Linked DNA regions of Homo sapiens: all the other regions are linked to region 1. Evidence: promoter capture Hi-C in 16 types of primary human blood cells and fetal thymus (Javierre and others, 2016). All regions are on one chromosome and are shown on one strand. The core of a region is centred on a gene start or on the middle of the fragment in contact, and the rest is flanking DNA. Distances in the headings are between cores, read along the strand shown.

Region 1 (3,997 bases), core at 1,466-3,965:
GATCTCGGTTCACTGCAACCTCCACCTCCCAGGTTCAAGCGAATTTCCTGCCTCAGCCTCCCCAGCAGCTGGGACCACAGGCACATGCCACCACCCGGCTAATTATTTTGTATTTTTAGTAGAGATGGGGTTTCACAATGTTGGTCAGGCTGGTCTTGAACCCCTGACCTCACGTGATCTGCCTGCCTCGGCTTCCCAAAGTGCTGGGATTACAGACATGAGCCACTGCACCTGGCCTCTTCTTTTTTGAATGGTTAAGTATAGAGTTTGTTTTCACCCGAAGATTGAGGTTGGGCACTTAGGAGCATCGCTTCATGTTACCCTGAATGTACCATTCAGGGTATACGCTCTCTCACCATATATTTCTCTGAATGTTTATTTTCAGTGTAGCTTTAATTTGCATTTCTCCTATAGTGAATGAAGCAAGCATTTTTCATAAATATAATGGTCACTTCTACATCTTTGTTCATGAATTATTTGCTGATGCTTTTTGCCCATGTTTTCTGTCTGGTTTTCACATTTTCCTTCTCAAACCTTTTCTTTCTTTCTTTCTTTCTTTCTTTCTTTCTTTCTTTCTTTCTTTCTTCCTTCCTTCCTTCCTTCCTTCCTTCCTTCCTTCCTTTCTTCCTTCCCTTCCTTCCCTTTCCCTCCCTCCCTCCCTTCCTTCCTTCCTTTTCTCTCTCTTTCTCTCTCTCTCTCTCTCTTTCCTTTTTGACAACTTCTTGCTCTGTTGCCCAGGCTGTAGTGCAACTCACTGTAGCCTCGACTTCCTAGGCTCAAGCAATCCTCCCCCCTCGGCCTCCCAGTAGCTGGGACTGAGGCAGAAATTAAAATAATAATAATAATAAGTACTACATATATTCACTCCAAGAGAAGTAAGAGCTAAGGCCCAGAATGTGGCAAGGCAAGGGTTAAAAAAGAAGAAGAACAAGTTTTCCTCTGCTTAGCAGCTCACTTCAAGGACAGTTATAAGATAACGCTGTCCGAAAAGCCAAGGCCAGAGGACTGGGCTCCAGACCCCGCCCTCCACCCCACCGCCCGCCTCCAGAGCAAGGTTGAAGGAAAAAAAAGAGAGAAAGACAAATTATTTTATTGCTATTCCTTTCCTTGGTCTCTTAAGCATGACTATGTTTTACAAACCTCTCTATTTAGCCAGTTCTTGTTTTACTTTTGATGCAGCTACAAGGCCACCAGCTATGCAAGGCCACAAGTTATGCACTATATGATTAACTACTTTTGTTTTACCTTTCTAAGCTTGCTTATAAAAACCCCACAATATCTTTGTTCTAGGCTCAGCTTTTTGGATGTGAATCCACTGAGCCAGTGCGTACGTTGAAATAAACATCCTCCTGTTCTCTCATATTGGTCTCTCCGTTCCTCAGTTTCCCACAACAGGACTACAGGTGTGCACCACCAAGCTCAGCTAATTTTTATATTTTATAGAGACAGAGTCTTGCCAGGTTTCCTAGGCTGGTCTCAAACTCCTGGGCTCAAGCATTCCTCCCACCTTGGCCACCCAAAGTGCTGTGATTACAGGCATGAACCACTCACCTGGCCTTCCCTCTCAAATTTTAAGAGTTCCTGATATATTATATGATATATGTTGAGATATATATACATATATATATGTAATGTATATATATGATATATGTTGCAAATAGTTTCTCCTGGTCTGTCAGATGTCTTTTGACTTTGCTTATTGAGTTTTTTGACATGAAAAAGTTAAAAAATTTATACAGTCAAATGCATTAATCTTTTATTGCATCTAGGTTTTTTTTTTTTTTTTTTTCTTTTGAGACAAGGTCTCATTCTGGTTGCTCAGGCTGGAGTGCAGTGGTGCAATCTCGACTCTCTGCAGCCTCGACCTTCCGGGCTCAGGTGATTTTCCTACCTCAGTCTCCCGAGTAGCTGGGACTATAGGCGCGCCTCACTGCGTCCGGCTACTTTTTTGTATTTTTAGTAGAGACGGGGGTTTCACCATGTTGCCCAGGCTGGTCTTGAACTCCTGAACTCGCCCGCCCTGGCCTCCTGGAGTGTTGGGATTACAGGCGTGAGCCACCGCGCCCGACGGCATCTAGGTTTTGAGTAGTAGTTAGACAGCTTTTTCCCACACACATGTAAAAAGGGTATTTGAGGGACAATGGGAAAAGTTGGAATAAAGACTGCATTAGATAACTGTATTAAATAAATGGCAAATACCATTAAATAAATCTGGCCGGGCGCGGTGGCTCACCCCTGTAATCCCAGCACTTTGGGAGGCTGAGGCAGGCGGATCACCTGAGGTCAGGAGTTCAAGACCAGCCTGGCCAACATGGCGAAACCCCGTCTGTACTGAAATTACATAAATCAGCTGGGCGTGGTGGTGCGCGCCTGTAATCCCACCTACTCAGGAGGATGAGGCAGGAGAATCGCTTGAACCCGGGAGGCGGAGGTGGCAATGAGCCGAGATCGCGTCACTGCACTCCAGTCTGGGCGACATATGGAGGTTTTGTCTTGTCTCAAAAAAAAAAAAAAAAAAAAACTTGGGGAAGTGTGCTAAACCGGGTTTGCGTAGGTGGAAGGGGCGGCCGGGCTCTTTAAGGTGGGTCCCGCCCCGTAGGCCTCCCCTCGCGCCAGCCCCTCCCATCCCGGAAAGGCTCAGCCCAAGCCCGGCCCCGCCCGCCCTCGGCCCCGCCCATGGCAGAGCGCAGTCACGTGACCCGGGCTGCGGGGCGCAGCATTGTGCGGTCATGGTGGGCCAGATGTACTGCTACCCCGGCAGCCACCTGGCCCGGGCGCTGACGCGGGCGCTGGCGCTGGCCCTGGTGCTGGCCCTGCTGGTCGGGCCGTTCCTGAGCGGCCTGGCGGGGGCGATCCCAGCGCCGGGGGGCCGCTGGGCGCGCGATGGGCAGGTCCCTCCAGCCTCCCGCAGCCGCTCGGTGCTCCTGGACGTCTCGGCGGGCCAGCTGCTTATGGTGGACGGACGCCACCCTGACGCCGTGGCCTGGGCCAACCTCACCAACGCCATCCGCGAGACTGGGTAAGGGTTGGCTTATCCCCACGCGGGGCCATCGGGGGAGGGGGATGCGTGGGCGCCGGACCTCGCCTGTTCCCGGGACCGGCCTCTTGCCGGGTGGGAACGCCCGTTTCTCTGGGGGTCAGCTACTCCCGAGGCTGCAGCACCGCCCTGCGGGCCAAGTACCCTGTTTGGGAGCTGGCTACTGCGGCATCCCTCACCTCATGGGGCCAGTCCCTTGCCTTCAGCCAGTGGTGACAGTACTTCTGTCCCCAAGAAGCCAGTTCCCTACCACCGAGGCCGCAGTGCCTGCATCTGGATCAGGTCCATGGCTGGTGGGTAAATTCTATCCTCACGGGGACCTGCTCCCTTCCCTAGACTTTGCCTCCTCACCCCATGGAGGCCAGCCCCCTGTCCCCAGGCCTGAGGGGTGATGAGAACTCAGCAGGAGACTAATTCTTACCTGCTTGGCTGTGGCTTGCTCGTGGGTGCCAGCACCCTGCCTCCCTTCCAGTGCCAGGTCAGCAGGACTGAACCTGGGTTCCAGGCTAGTCCAAAAGCAGAGGGTCCCTAAAGTCACATAGACCCATTTAGTATCCTGCTAGGGCTCTGCTCCTCCCTTGTCTTCTGTGTCCTGGTCCAAGGGGAAGTCCTTGGCTGGATGCCGTGTTTGGCAGCCATGCTCACCATCTTTATTGCTGGAACCCAGGCTGTCATTCTGATGTGTGAGTCTCACCTAACTCCTCCGCCTGTCTGGGCTCCCGTTTCCCCATCTGTGGCCCAGATTTTGAGGATGTGCTCTAGTTGGGTGGTCATGTGCTGCAAGTTCTGTACAAGGGCTTGTGCCCATTCATTTATTCATTACCCTGATGGTTGGCCTTAGGGACACAGCTGAGCAGCTGTCTCTACTCAGTGGGAAACACAGACAGCGATAGAAGAGAAATCAGAGTCAGTGGGAGTGGGAAGGATCAGCTTCAAAGCCTTGTCAGCAGGGCCCAGACG
Region 2 (4,307 bases), core at 138-2,637, 560 kb after region 1:
GACAGCATCCATCCCTCGCAGGGCTGCTGTGCGGCTTAAAAGAGGTGATTCTGCACGGGAAGGCATTCAAGCTCAGAGCCCCGCACACAGCAAGCGTGTAATAAAAGGGAGTTGTGATTTTTACTACACCTGGTAGGAGAAACCCATAGAACCTGCCTGCCCAAATGGACCAGCTTGGTTCCCCGAAACCCTGAAACCTCCCCCTGGCTAATGACCTTTACCGGCCAGTGGCTTTGTCTGAAATCCTGTCTGGGGCTTCCCTGGACAATCTTGAAGTCCCTGAGAAGGCTCACAGCGACCCCTGCTGTCTGCAACGAGGAACTGCCTTACATCCCCAGCCGGAGTGAACAACAATAGCAGGTACGGCCCTCCAAGAAGGTCTTACGTTTCCAGGGTTTTAAGAAAACTCTCATCAGAACAATGGCAAGGAGAAGAGTCACCACATGTAATTATGTTCAGTGGACACTAATTCCCTGTCTTCTAAAAATAAATATAATACATGAGATCACACAAAGTGCTCTCTCTTCCCTTGTGGTCTTTTGTTTCCCCGGATAAGTGTCATCCTAAATATACTGCAGAACCAAGTGAAACTGTCATTTCAGCGGGATATTATTTCCCGATCAACATGCGCTCTTCTTAGCAAGCCCGTTTTAATCTGGCAGTTCTTAAGTTGGACTCCTTTTAAAAAGCAGAGCATGTTTAAACAAGCAGACATACCGAGAGGCTAAGGATATGTACCTTCCTGGAGGGACGACTGATCAGTCGAGGTTTAGGGAAATGGGAAACCTCCCCCCAGGTCATGACCCCATCTCGCCAGGCTATTCCTGCTGTGCAGGATACCCGGAGATCATAGCTAAGATCCTGCTTCCCAGATACTGGCAGGATTGGTCTCTGCCTCAGATCCCAGCTCACCACACACCACATCTGTTTATGAACTGAATACTAGTGTATGATTTAGAACAAACAGAGGGGAAAAGGAGGACAAAGATATCTGAAGTTCCCCACATGACTTCTTATTCTTCAAACTACAGAGTGAGAGCAAAGAAGGTAGATGCCACACAAAGATAATTGTTTCTCATCTCCAAAACACAAGGCTGATTTTGTAACCACAGATTACCTTGCAAGATGCTAACTGGCAACTCTAACAGAGGCTTCACTCTTGGACCCTTGTGCAAGTGTAGAATGAACGAACGAGACCTAGTGTCTAGAATCCTAAATGTTCACCCACGCGCAGGCCATGGTGCTGCAGGTCCCCCGAGCAGTCCTGGATCCCACCGAAGCCTCAACAATGTGTTTAGGTGAAGCTGACTTCATCTGCCTTTGCATTCTGAGAGCTAGATGGTCTCTCTATTACCCTGCCCATGCCTTGGGTGGGGGGGCCTTGGCTTCAAGCATTCCCCTTAGGCCCTGATATGAGGACGTTTCTTTCATTCATGGCTTGGTGCTGGGTGGTGCCTACCTAATCTGAAAAGCCAAACACTGTAACATGGCAGCGTAGGGATCACCAACTAGGGGCCCTGGGGCAGGCCAGACTTGTTTTGTTTTTAAAAAGTGAATTAGTTGCTGATGAATTCTCCTTAAGAATCCACATGGCTGGTTTCTCTTTCAAAACATGGGAACTGGTCTTACGAAGCCTGAGTTCCTGCATGGCATCCCAGCTGGATGACCAGAGAGAGGCCCGCCTGCTGCTCAGTCCCCACCCAGCCTGCTGCCGTTACCGGCTGGGTCCCTGCGACAGCTGCATTTTCCACCCCTGTGCAAGCAGGTGCTGACGGACTGCTTTATGTGTGCAGGTAATTCGCCTTCATTTCCATAGAGTCATTTAGGCCACTGGTCCCCAACCCCGGCTGGACATTAGGATCCCCTGGGGAGCTTTTAGCAAAACACCGATGTCTAGACCCCACTGTTGAAAAATGGAATCCAACTCTCTGGGGGTGCAGCCTCGGGAAAGGTGTATTTTAGCCATTGCCAGGTGGCTGGAATGTGTGGCTAAGGTGGAAAACCAGCACCTTAAACCAAAGGGGTAGCCTGGATGGAGGAAATTTCAAGCAGATCATGGGTAGGGCTGGGTTTTAGCCACTGGGGCCCCTGCCCCTCTTGCACGTTGTGGATGGGGACAGGGAAGCCTGCCTGCCCTTTCTCCATCTGCCTCGGAGAGGGGGAAGCCTGGCTGTTTTGACTTTTTTCCTGCACAGTGCTCTGGGGAGCCACATCTGAGATTAAGGGAGATAAATCAAAAGCAGCCAAAAGATGACCTTTGAAAGACCACTGTGCCGGCCTGCAACGGAACCATCCAGGACCCAAAGGCCATCTTCCCTGAGACTCGGGCAGGCTCCCCGCCCACACGCCAGTCCCCTGGACTAAACCTGAAGTTCTCACCTGAAGAGCTCTCGGATCTCCCGGCTGTGGGCCTGGAAGGGGATGTTCCGCACCAGGATCTTGGAGGTGGTCTGCTTTCTGGGAACTTGTTTCTTCCGAGCCAATGTCACGGCTGGCCTGGAGTGGTGGGGGGAGAGGGTCCAAGTTATTCGGAGCTTCAGCAGCTCCTGCCCAACATTGACTCCACTACGCCTCCATCAGAATATTCAGGTGATGGATTCAAGGAGTGTGCGTGGGGTGCGGGACCAACGTGAAAGGAGAGGAAGGCCGTCTCCCACCAGGTGATAGGACCCAAAACAGCTGCAGACGTCAGGGGGACACATCCGTGCTTGGGTGGCTGCTGACCTTCATTTGAGAGACTCCGGGGCCACCAGGGACTTAAGGAGCCCCGCTAAGGGTGGGGCTGGTTTCTCACCAAACCCAATCTCCATTGTGTCTTTCTCTCCAGTTGCAAAGAAAGACCCCAGTTGGTTTCCAAAGGTCTTGTGACACTTCATCAATAACCCGAGGAGGAACATGCGGGGGCCTAACCATGCAGATGGACCAGGTGGCGAGCAAGGACACTCTCAGCCCAGGTTCAAGGCCATCCCCAATGCAGTGCTACCTGGCCTGTCTCCCTGCTCTCCCAGGGAAACCTCCCACTCCACCAAAACAGGGTAGGGAAGTGAGCAAGGCTGGGAGTTAACAAGCTGGGTGTGAATGCCAAATCCGACACTTAGGATCTCTGCGATCTTGGGCAAGTAACATGGCCGCTCTGGGCCTCCATTTCTTCCACTGTAGAATGGGTGTAATGATAGGCCCACCTAATTTGATTGTTTGAAGATTTAATAAGCAGACTCAGCACTGGACCCAGAATGTGGTAAACATTCAATAAACAGCAGCTGTTATGATAATGACCATGTTAGGACTTACCTCCTTCAGGCCTGCTCCACGTCACCTCCTCACAGGCCTTCCCTGTCTCCATTAAAATGGCAGCCCCCTCACCCACAGCCCCCAGCTTCATTTCTCTTCCTGGCACTGATCCCTGTGCTAGTACATTATACATTTAATCATGTTTCTTTTCTTTTTTTTGTCTTGTCATTCTGGGGCTATGCTGTCTCATATGGCAGCCACCAGCCACATGTGGCTAGTTGAATCTAAATTAAAATGAAGCAAAACTAGGCTGGGCATGGTGGCTCACACCTGTAATCCCAACACTTTGGGAGGCTTAGGTGGATCACCTGAGGTCAGGAGTTCAAGACCAGCCTGGCCAACATAGTGAAACCCTGTCTCTACTGAAAATACAAAAATTAGCCAGGTGTGGTGGCAGGCGCCTGTAATCCCAGTTACTTGGGAGGCTGAGGCACGAGAATTGCTTGAACCCAGGAGGCGGAGGTTGCAGTGAGCTAAGATCACACCACTGCAGTCCAGCCTGGGTGACAGGGTGAGACTCCGTCTCAAAAAAATAGAAGCAGCAAAACTACAAATTCACTTCCTCGGTTGCTGGGGTATCAGGCTCCAAGATGGTGCCCAGTGATTCCTGGCTCTTGGTGTTCATGCCCTGGGTAATCCCTTCCCATGCTGTATCAGGGCAGGTCTGGGTGACAAGCAGCATACAGCAGAGGGATGGTGTGTGAATTCTAAGACTAGGTTGTAGAAGACATTGTGGCCTCCTTCTTCCCCATTCTTGGATCACTCACTCTGGAGAGACCCGCTGCCATGCCATGGGGACACTCAAGCGGTCCCAGAAAGAGATCCCCAAGGTGAGGAACTGAGGACCCCTGCCAGCAGCCATGTGAGTGTATCATCTTAATGACAGATCTACCAGCCCCAGCTGAGCCTTCAGATGACTGCTGCCCTAGCCGACATCCTGACTGTAACCTCATGAGAGACCCTGAGCCAGAATTCCCAGCTAAGCTGCTCCTGAATTCCTGACCCATGAAACTATG
Region 3 (4,404 bases), core at 360-2,859, 580 kb after region 1:
CTCGGCCCTCCCTCTCCTTCTCCCTGCAGGGTAAGCTGCTGGCTTCAGGCTCCCAGGAAGGCCAGCCAGTGCCAGGCGTCCGAGTCCACAGCTGGGCACCCTTGCCAGCCAGCTACTGCTCCCCGAGTCACCAGGCCAGGCTGTGTCCAGAGAGGCGTGGAGACAGCCAGGAGCCAAGGCCATGAAGCCAAAGGTCATTTTAAAAAGCACTTCTGCTGCTGGCCCCAAGTTGGGAGACAAAAGAAAGATGGGAAAGAAAAAAATAAGGTATTGTGAAACTCAAACAGATGTTTGCCAACAAAAACACCAGGAACCAGAAAAAGAGGGAAGAAGTGAGAAAGGAATCAGGGCTAGGCCTGGGGGCGGGGGAGTTGGGGGAAGGATCTAAAAGCAAGGTGGGCTGGAGGGGGTTGGGAGAGGCAGGGGAACTGTGCTTCCATCTGTAGTTAGCACAATCAAATCCAGTCACGCATCGCCACATGGGGCTTTATTATAATCAGGCCACAGAATTTACTGCGGCCTCCTCCCCTTTCCCGGCTCTCGGCGCTGGAGCTGACAGCAAAGACTGTTATCAGTTGCAAGCAGCTTTTCAGGACCTCCCCCCACTCTGAGCCCTTTATCTGGAGGTGAGGGTCTTGGTTGTGGGGAGATAAAACACGCTGTCCCCCTCCCTCGAGACTGGTACAGAGAACAGGAGAGCTTTGCAGAAAGGAAGGGGGTAAAATAAAAAAAAAAAGGTATGTCCACTCCCCTCCTACTCTTCTTCCTTGGGAGCCTGAGAAAATCCAGGGCTTTGTGGGCTGGCTGAGTCCCCCCAGCCCTCGTTGTCCTCGTACAACGGGGGAGTCGGGGATTTGGTGAAGCTTCAGGAACAATGCAAAGAGGGTGGGGGTGGGGGAGGAGCAGGTGAAAAGAACAGCACCCGCCAGGAGGGGCTGTGCATGTGCTGCGTGCAGTGAGGGCAGGAGGAGGCCCTGGAGATCAGCTCTGTGGGAATTCACCGATGACGCGGGACACAGCGGGGCTTGGAATTAGCACAGACACGCACAACTTCCCGGGCCAAAGGAGGCCCAGCGGCCGGGCTCTAAGGCCTTCTTTGTGTGAGTCATGGTCAGGCCCTGGAAAGCAGCCCCTCTGGGAGGTAGGGGCTGTTGGACACATGCTCAAACCTACAATGTAGACCCAGGAAGCAGGGGGACCCGCGGGCAGGGGGTGGGAAAACACTCTGACCGTAAACCACAGCATGCTATCTCCGTGATGCACCCTGTGCTGTGATGCAGACATTTCTGTACTCAGGGCCCACTTCTATTACTACTTGTGACATCTCACTTGTCCCCCAACAGCTCTATTGTCCTCCACAGCTCAAAAGTTCCTGGGGAAGGGGGTCTGTGCATCTGTGTGGTGTCCATCTTGATCACCCAGCTCGGCTGCTGGCTTGGGGCTGGTGCCCATGGTGAGTTAAAGACTATCCACTGTGCCATATTTTTCTAAATTTTAATTTAATTTTTGAGATAGGGTCTTGCTCTGTCACCCAGGCTGAGTGTAGTGGTGCAATCTCGGCTCACTGCAGCCTCCATCTTCCAGGCTCAAGTGATCCTCCAACCTCAGCCTCCTGAGTAGCTGGGACTACAAGGCATGCACCACTACGCCCAGCTAATTTTTGTATTTTTTGTAGAAATAGGGTTTTGCCATGCTGTCCAGGCTTGTCTTGAACTTCTGGACTCGAGTGATCCTCCTGCCTCAGCCTCCCAAGATGCACTGTGATTTATATTGCTCAGTCACCAACAGCAGCGGAAGACTGGTGATGTGCATGTGACATCCCACCACGCCCTCAGAGGGCGGGGCGGATATCATGCCCGTTTTACAGATATGGAAACTGAGCCTCAGAGAGGCAGGTGGCTTGGCCAGTCACAGAATGGCTGCTTACTGGAAATCTCAGGGCCATTTCCCCAGGGGCTCTAGGCCTCACATGATGAGGATGCCAAGGACTTAGAACCATGCCTAGCATGGCATAACTGCTGCTTTTGCTCTTGGGTTCACTCACACACACTTCCTGATCACTATCAGCCACTGGGGCACGTTCATGGGTGCTAGGATACTGCCGTGAGCAAGGTGAATGGGGTCTCGGCATGTGGAGTGGCCATTCCAGGGGCAGAGTCCGACAGAGCAACACCGGGGAAAGGAACCATTCATGACACAATTCCAGGAAGTGATAAGCATTTGAAATAAAATAAAGGGCCATTTGTGAGAGTGGGGACAAATGGGAGCCCCCTCTATTATTTTGATTGATGGTGTTATTGTCACCACTGTGTTCTGAGGCTGGGCTAACAACGAAAACCAAACGTTCAAACCTAACTAAGCTTCTACTGTGTGCCAGAGCCTTGGGACACAAAGACAAATATGACCCGGCCTCATCTTTCGAAGGAACAGAGAGGCAGATTCTCATGCATTCCCTCACTCCCTTGACACCTGTGAACCGAGCTTCCCTATGCCTGGGCCCCCCGGGGTGCTGGGTACCGGGCAGTGAAGGAGACAGCCCCATTCCCTGCCTTCACGGCTCAAAGTCTGGCTGAGATAGGAAACAAATACAAGTAACAAATAAACAGAATAAATAGAAATTGTGACAAGTGTTAGAGAAAAAAGAAGACAGCAGAGAGGGATAATCCCCAGGACACAAGGAAATGAAGAGCCTGGTGGAAGCGGTCACTTTGGGAGCCACCACGTGTCCCCAGCCTGCCTCCTGTTGCCACCCAAGGCTGCGGGAAGAGGCCTCCACCAATTTGTTTTCAGTGCCGCTCAGCCCTGGCTGATCTCTGCGTTTCAAAGGAGAACTCGCTTTGGGCCAAAAAAAAAAAACATTACTTAGGTTCAAGGGTGGTAACTGAAGTAAAAATCAAGGCAGCTGTGATTTGGGGGAGACAGTTAAGAACAAGCCAGGATGACATGAAGAGAATTTTGTTTTGATGGGAACAGGCACAGGTTTTGAAGGAGACCCTGATCCAAACTGAGTGGAGAGAGCTTAACTCATAAACGAGCAGGAGTCGGGCTTTCACAAGGTTTACACCAATCATCATTAACCCCAACGATGTGGGATGCTTCTGGGTCCTCAGATCGCAAAGGGACTGAAGGATTTTGTTTCCTGATTGAAACAGGCCTCCAGACAGGCACTTCCTGAATGCCTTGCGCTGGCTGAGCCAGTCCTGAAGATACACAGTGAAACAAGGAAATGAGAAATGTGGACAAGGCAGGGGAGGTTAGGTACAGCAAAGTCTATTCCACTAAAATCTTAGACTGGGCGTGGTGGCTTATGCCTGTAATCCCAGCACTTTGGGAGGCTGAGGCAGGCAGATCACTTGAGGCCAGGAATTCCAGACCAGCCTGGCCAATATGGTGAAACCCCGTCTCTACCAAAAATACAAAAAAATTAGCCAGGCGTGGTGGTGGGCGCCTGTAGTCCCAGCTACTCGGGAGGCTGAGGCAGGAGAATTGCTTCAACCCAGGAGGCAGAGGTTGCAGTGAGCCAAGATCGCGCACTCCAGCCTGGGCAACAGAGCAAGGCTCTGTCTCAAAAAAACAAAACAAAACAAAACAAAAAAAACAACTCTTAAATCTGACAGTGTTCCTCCCCATTTTTTTTTAACTATGAAATGTCCTTTAAAAAAAAATGAGAACAAAGGAGAGAGTAGCTGAGGACTTATTATTATTTTTTTTAACATCCTTATTTTAATAAGTTAAACAACTGGTTGCTGTATTGTGGGTGTGTATAGGTGAGTGGTTATTACTGACAAGGAAAATCGTAACATCTGGATAGAATGACCATGGTCCTGTTGGTCTTGGCTTCTAAGATGTGGTCATGGTCCTTAGACTATGAGGTCCTCGATGCGGGGGATACACTGCCCGCTGTGGGCATCTAGGAATGCGTGGGGGTGTTCCAGGTTGTCACAAGGACTGGGGGCACTCGTGACACTCAGAGGCACAGGCCAGGGATGTGAAATGTCTTGTGATTTGCAAAGCAGTCCTGACAAGAAAGTACTGTCCAGTCCCAAAGCCCAATGATACCCCTTTTCCCAGCTAGGAAGCATTAGCCAGGGGGTGGGGGTTGCCCTATCTGGCCCCCAGGGGCCACGGCTTCCCCTTCCTTTCCTGTCTTTGCAGTCACTGGACATCAGAGGGCACTGCCACTCCAAGGACATGAGAATAAGTATCTCCCATACCAGCCACCCTCCTCCATGAGCCATTCTGGTCCATCTCTGAAACAGGAAGGTTGTTTATACTTGCTCTGCTTTGAATCCTTGTTAATAGATAGTAATTTTTTTCCCCTAAAAGCTTTAATTGACAAACTAAAAGCATATTGCATCCATAATTTTGACACTGTTTTTTACAGGACATGCCCATAAAATCTGA

Evidence for each region. Contacts are between HindIII fragments. The CHiCAGO score rates a contact against its expected background, and 5 or more counts as called.
Region 2: a fragment that was not itself captured here is called in contact with the fragment with the promoter of PLBD2 in region 1 in 1 of 17 cell types (endothelial precursors); the score reaches 5.1 in endothelial precursors.
Region 3: a fragment that was not itself captured here is called in contact with the fragment with the promoter of PLBD2 in region 1 in 1 of 17 cell types (erythroblasts); the score reaches 7.0 in erythroblasts.

Annotation. Positions count from the first base shown.
Region 1 is chr12:113,355,872-113,359,868 of GRCh38, forward strand. It overlaps PLBD2 (phospholipase B domain containing 2), which reads left to right and starts at 2,716. Exons shown (of 12, transcript NM_173542.4): 1 at 2,716-3,019. The coding sequence starts at 2,730. LOC105369989 (a long non-coding RNA gene) reads right to left here and starts at 3,639. Exons shown (of 3, transcript XR_945346.3): 1 at 3,459-3,639. RefSeq lists silencers at 2,530-3,029, 3,080-3,139 and an enhancer at 3,475-3,974. The HindIII fragment of the contact is 3,133 bases long and covers 1,253-3,997 here.
Region 2 is chr12:113,912,590-113,916,896 of GRCh38, forward strand. RBM19 (RNA binding motif protein 19) reads right to left here. Exons shown (of 24, transcript NM_016196.4): 21 at 2,380-2,496. Among named protein-coding and RNA genes, the nearest start is that of RBM19, 52 kb to the right of the region's middle. The HindIII fragment of the contact is 6,170 bases long and covers 1-4,307 here.
Region 3 is chr12:113,932,463-113,936,866 of GRCh38, forward strand. The region is part of intron 16 of RBM19 (RNA binding motif protein 19); the gene reads right to left. Among named protein-coding and RNA genes, the nearest start is that of RBM19, 32 kb to the right of the region's middle. RefSeq lists enhancers at 1-255, 1-1,789, 505-649, a silencer at 512-690 and a cis regulatory region at 568-585. The HindIII fragment of the contact is 1,497 bases long and covers 862-2,358 here.